Linked DNA regions of Homo sapiens: region 1 is linked to region 2. Evidence: promoter capture Hi-C in 16 types of primary human blood cells and fetal thymus (Javierre and others, 2016). All regions are on one chromosome and are shown on one strand. Each heading gives the region's core, a stretch centred on a gene start or on the middle of the fragment in contact. The rest is flanking DNA. Distances are from core to core; before and after follow the strand shown.

What was found. The method cuts DNA at HindIII sites, captures the fragments that hold promoters and counts their contacts. A CHiCAGO score of 5 or more calls a contact.
Region 1: a contact is called between a fragment that was not itself captured here and the fragment with the promoter of BRWD3 in region 2, in 1 of 17 cell types (non-activated CD4 T cells). The highest score is 7.2, in non-activated CD4 T cells.

The regions. Positions count from the first base shown.
Region 1 is chrX:76,423,203-76,425,921 of GRCh38, forward strand. No RefSeq gene overlaps it. Among named protein-coding and RNA genes, the nearest start is that of MAGEE1, 3.1 kb to the right of the region's middle. The HindIII fragment of the contact is 2,421 bases long and covers 210-2,630 here.
Region 2 is chrX:80,808,553-80,811,252 of GRCh38, forward strand. It overlaps BRWD3 (bromodomain and WD repeat domain containing 3), which reads right to left and starts at 1,325. Exons shown (of 41, transcript NM_153252.5): 1 at 889-1,325; 2 at 694-752; 3 at 461-490; 4 at 1-46. The coding sequence starts at 919. It overlaps LOC124905202 (a long non-coding RNA gene), which reads left to right and starts at 256. Exons shown (of 2, transcript XR_007068278.1): 1 at 256-741. RefSeq lists an enhancer at 1,560-1,639. The HindIII fragment of the contact is 3,163 bases long and covers 806-2,700 here.

The DNA.
Region 1 (2,719 bases), core at 170-2,669, 4.4 Mb before region 2:
TGGAACAGGTGGCCTCCCACTAAAATTAGAACAACATCATCATAAACAGGGAAATAAATAGGCCAAATTTATAATATGATTGATGGTTATTTTTGAAATAATTTGCCCTACCTTTGAGGATCACATATGTGAGTACTCCACAGTTCAGAATCAAATTTGGTGCATGTATAAATTAATAACTTTTTAAAAACTGCCAAGAGATACTGTGAAGCTTACTCTAGACCCATGCAAACATTCTGATGCTATTTACTACTGGCAATCACCCGGAAACTCAAGCAAGGCACACCAATCCAAATAAGGAGGAACATTCATTTGCCTAAACCTGCAGATATCTTAAGTCACAGAAACACATATAATGACAAATTTAACTGCATGTTGGACTTGCTTCTGCCAATCTGATTCTAGCATTATGGATAGACAGGAACATGTAGCAAAGGGGTTATAATGTCACTCTACTGACTGAACAATTGAACAAATTAAAATCTGCTCCTTTTTCTAATCGATTCCCCTGGCTTTCCTCCATTACGTGGGCAGATTGGCTATGAAAGGGTTTTGAAATCCTTGTTTGTACCCTTATAGGATTCTGTCTCCTTTATTTCTGGCAAGAAACTTAGGCACTGCAAAATAACATACAATTTTAATTATAAGACAACATTGGGCCAGGGGATGGACTGTTATATGCATGAGCCAAAGATAGTCTCTATATATTGATTCTGCCAGTACCAAACTCAATTTTTTACACATCAATTGTTTTAAATATAGACCAATAAGTAGATTGTTAGCCATTTAGAGGCTGCCTTCTTTGCATGTCCCTGTGAAACTACAATCATCTGTTAGCTATAGATAGGATAAACTCCAGGAGATAAAAACCCTAACCTACTGCTGCCCTTCAGAGATCTCTGACCCAGCAACTCCCTGTCTTGCTGCTGAGAGACATCGCTACATGTATAAGCCATCTCTTTGATTCCCCTCCCTCTCTCCAGTTAGCTTGTCCTCTCATTTTCTAGGTTGTGACCTCCCACCAGCCTCTGGAAGATCTCAGACTTTGATTAACCCCATGCCCTTGCAAACCTGTCAAAGGGTTGACCAAATGAAACTCGTATGCTTATACACTGTTGGTGGGAATGTAAATTAGTAATAATAAACACTATATATAGTTCAACCACTATAGAAAGCAGTTTGGAGATTTCTCAAAGAACATAAAACACAACTACCATTCAATTCAGTAATCACATTATCGGGCATATATCCAGAAGAAAAGAAATCATTCAACCAAAAAGACACATACACTCATAGTTGTTTGCAGCCTTATTAACAAGAGCAATGACATGGAGTCAACTTAGGTGTCTATCACTGATATTTGCTAAAGAAAATGTGGTACATATATACCATGGAATACAACACAGCCATAAAAACTAATGAAATAATGTCCTTTGCAGCAACATGGATGCAGCTGAAGGCCATTATCCTAAGCGAATTTACACAGAAACAGAAAACCAAATACCATATGTTCTCATTTATAAGTTGGAGCTAAAGATTGGGTACTCATCAACATAAAGGTGGCAAAAACAGACACTGGAGGACTATTAGAAGGGGGAAGAAGAAAGGGGGTCATGGGTTGAAAAACTGTTGAGTATTATGCTCACTACCTGGGTGATGAGATCATCTGTTTTCCAAACCTCAGCATCATGCAATATACCCATATAACAAACCTGTGTATGTATCCCCAGAATCTAAAATAAAAGTTGAAATTCTAAAACAGACAAACAACAAAAACTCATTGTGTGTTACTGAAAACGTGTGGTAGTATATATTTTTCTTGATCAGTCCCCAAATCTCTTGCACTCACTTGTTTCCTATATTTTAATTCTACATATAAATTACACAAAACATATTATTATTATTGTTTTACATTGTCAATATGTCTGTTTACCCACATATTTATCCTTTCTATTACTGTTCGCTTCTTGCATCTCTTCAGTTTCAGAGGAGAACCTTTCAGTATTTCCTCAGTGTGGGTGTACTGGTGATCAATTTACTCAGCACTGATTTCTGAACATGTATTTATTTTGCCTTCATTTTTGATGTACTATTTCAGTAAGTTCAGAATTCCAAATTATCAGCTTACAAATCATTAAATTCCTTAAGTGACAAACTTGTATACAATGTAAGACTCACCTCTTTGCACTTCCCTTTTTTCTGAGATCATTACTCTTGAAGTCCTCATTGCCTTTATAGGTTTCTGATGCTATATTGGTAGCCTTTGTTGCCATAAAAGGGTTTCTTTACCTAAATTTCTGGGGTTTTTTTTCCGCAGGGCTGCTGCAATCAACTATACATTATTAGAAATGGAATTCTTTGATATCATTATAATGACTTACTGGTATTCCATTTTTAGTACCATAATTTCTTCAAATACTCTTTAGTTATTTAACATTCATTTAGTTTTCAGCTCTGTTATACTAGAACAAATTATATAATAAAAGTTATTTTAGCTAAATATTTGCACATATATCTTATTATTTCTTTAGAATATATTTCTAGAGGTAAAAATTTTTAGTTTATAGGTTTGAACAACTTCAGGGTCTTTAAAAATCACTGTACCCTAGGTTAGGAATATCTGTTGCTAAAGCTTAGAAATATCTTAGGTTTTTTTGTGCCTCCCATTCTGAATAGGCCCCAGGCATAAAAACTGCATTGGACTTCACAGAACCGAAAC
Region 2 (2,700 bases), core at 75-2,574:
TTCTTCGGTGCTCTTTCCCCTCCCAATCTAAGCGGCGCGGAATCAGCTGGGGGCCGGACGAAAAGAAAGGGGGAAGCGGAGGCAAATGATGAAGGAAAAGCCTCCGCTCCCCATCAACTGGACCCAACCTGTGTCCCAGTCCTCAACACTTTACCGTCTTTATTTCTCTCGGCCTGATAGCTATTGGCTCAGAGCTAGACAAGTATATGGGGGGGGGGGGGAAGGGGGGTCGAGAAGGAAATCCTGAAAAACTGCCTCCCACAAGCATAAAGCGGGGACGAGTTAAGACCCCAGCGTTGTCTGCCCCTTTTGAGGGAAGAAGCCAATTCACCCCGGTGACAACAGCTACGGGTACCCAGATCGAAGCCTCTATCCCAGCCCGTCTTCCGCCCCTGACTTGCCCTCCCCTTCCTCCAGTCTCACCTCAACCCTCCCCACCCTTCCCGAAGGGGCTCCGTACCTGATGCTCCTCGAGCTCCTGCACTAGCACCTGAGCAAAAGGGAAACACAGATATGAGGAGCAGCTCGGGCCATCAACCCATTCCTCCCTCCACACTTAAAGCCCAGCCGCTGACCGTTTGACTAGTCAAGGCCGGCCTTTCCCTCACCCTCAACGGAACTGCTCGTCCCGCTGCCTCGATTTCCCCACTGGGACCATTCACCACGACTCCCAGATCTCTTTCTTCCCCTTACCTGAGCGGATTTGTTGCAGGGTCCAGACTGCAAGAACCTAGCGATCAGGTAATACAGCTCTGGGGAAGAGGGGGGAAAAGAGGTTCAGAGGGAGGTAGAGAAGAGAAATAGAAGCTTTTTCAAAAGAAACTGACAGCCTTCGCGCTAAGCCCCCATTCCCTTAGCACCCCCCCACCCCCCGACACAGCTACCCACCGGCTTCGATCTGGGTAGGTGCTGCCGCCATCCTTTTCCCGAGGGGGTTTGGGGGCTTCGCTCCGGAGGGGCTGGCGGGGGCGGGTGGGGGCGCTGCCTCTATTGTGGTGAAGCCCCCATGCCCGGGAGTCCCGCCGCTTCCGCCGCACTCCTCGTCCTAGTTTCGCTCTCTCTCGAATTCATCGCATCACGTTTCGACCCATAGATATTCTAGCCCAAGAGCTGAGGAGGCGGAGGAGGAAGGAGAGGAGAGGGAGAGGGAGAGAGAGAGTGAGTGAGTGAGAGAGAGAGAGAGAAGAGAGAGAGAGAGAGAGGAAAAAGAGAGAGAGAGAGAGAGAGAGAGAGAGAGAGAGAGAGAGAGAGACGCGGGGGGTGGGGGGGCGGAGAGAGAGAGAGAGAGAGAGATAGACGGAGCGAGAAGAGGGAGGAGCCGAAGTGGCGAAGAGGTGGGCGGGGGCAAAGGGGGTGGAGAGAGGGGAGGGTAAAAATGGTGATAGGGTTTTGCAGCGCTCATAGTTCCCCGCTAGAGGCACTAATACAGCAGCTGAGCCTAGACTCTCCCGGAGCCCGATGGTTGCTTAGCTACAGCTCTGGGAAGGAGGGGGAGGTGCTAACTGACGGCCGACGCTCTGGCAGCCGCCTTGGAACTCTGTGGTGGCATTCGCGTCTGCGAGCTCCGGAGTGACTTTCCCTTCCTGTGAAGGCAATCCGGCCCTTTCCGGTGGAGGACCCTTCCCCCTGGGTTGATCTTGAGGAACTTAAGAGACGGTGTTTTGACTCGACTCCTTTCCCCTTTTTCCTCCCGGTACCAAAGCGGTTTTGTTTGCTGTTTATACTCTACCCCGTGGAAAGGCGGCTAGCTGGCTAAAGGGTTTTATGCCTGGGGGAGGATGAGTCGCTATTTGGTCGTGACTTGTTTCTGTTTAAAATTATTATTATTTACCAAATGAAAATGTTGTACTTACCAGTCCAAAGTGCGGGGCTTATATTGTTAGAAGACCACTTAAAATGCTCCTGGATTCTGACAAATATTGCATGAGAAATTTGCAATCAGCCGTGAAGCATGTTTCCCCTTCTGAAAGTTTAACACGTGCCGTATCTACGGCTGGGATCTAACACATCCCATTCCTACAGGGTAATTTCCTATTGTGTTTTCAAATACTACTAAAGTACTTTAACCAAGAGTTTTCAATAATCTTTATGTATTATTGCCTATCTCTATGCAAGGTATCAATAGTTTTCTACAGGTTCGGGACTACACTGTTTAATATATAACCCCAACCCTTGGTACCGCACTGACCTTCAGTATTTGGTTGCTGAAATCTTCAATGATGAAAGGGGTTGGTATGATAATTGACACAGATTAGTAAACCGGGTCCTTTTCTTCCCTACTTTCCCGTAACATCCTGTCCCCACCCCACTCCCTCACCTAAACCTGATGAGACCAGAAATGCATTTTAAGTTGCATGTATTATTTACATTGAAATATTACAATTTGAAGGTTCATCTAAATTTAAGGCTATATTCTTGGGAATTGGGTTTCCTCACTCAGCTCTGCCACTGACCACAGTGGGCCTTGAATTTCTAAGTTGACATAAACTTAGCCTAGGTTGATTAGCTCTCACTTGTAATTTTTTTTTTTCCTCAGAAAGCAATAACCACAGGAGGTAATTGTGAAGTGATAGGCTTATCTTTGGTTGTTATTGCCATGGAACTTGACAAAACAAATATGAATAATTGATACAACAAAATGATATAAAAAGATACATGAGACCTAGACAACTCATTGCAAGTAGTTTAGCAAAATACCAG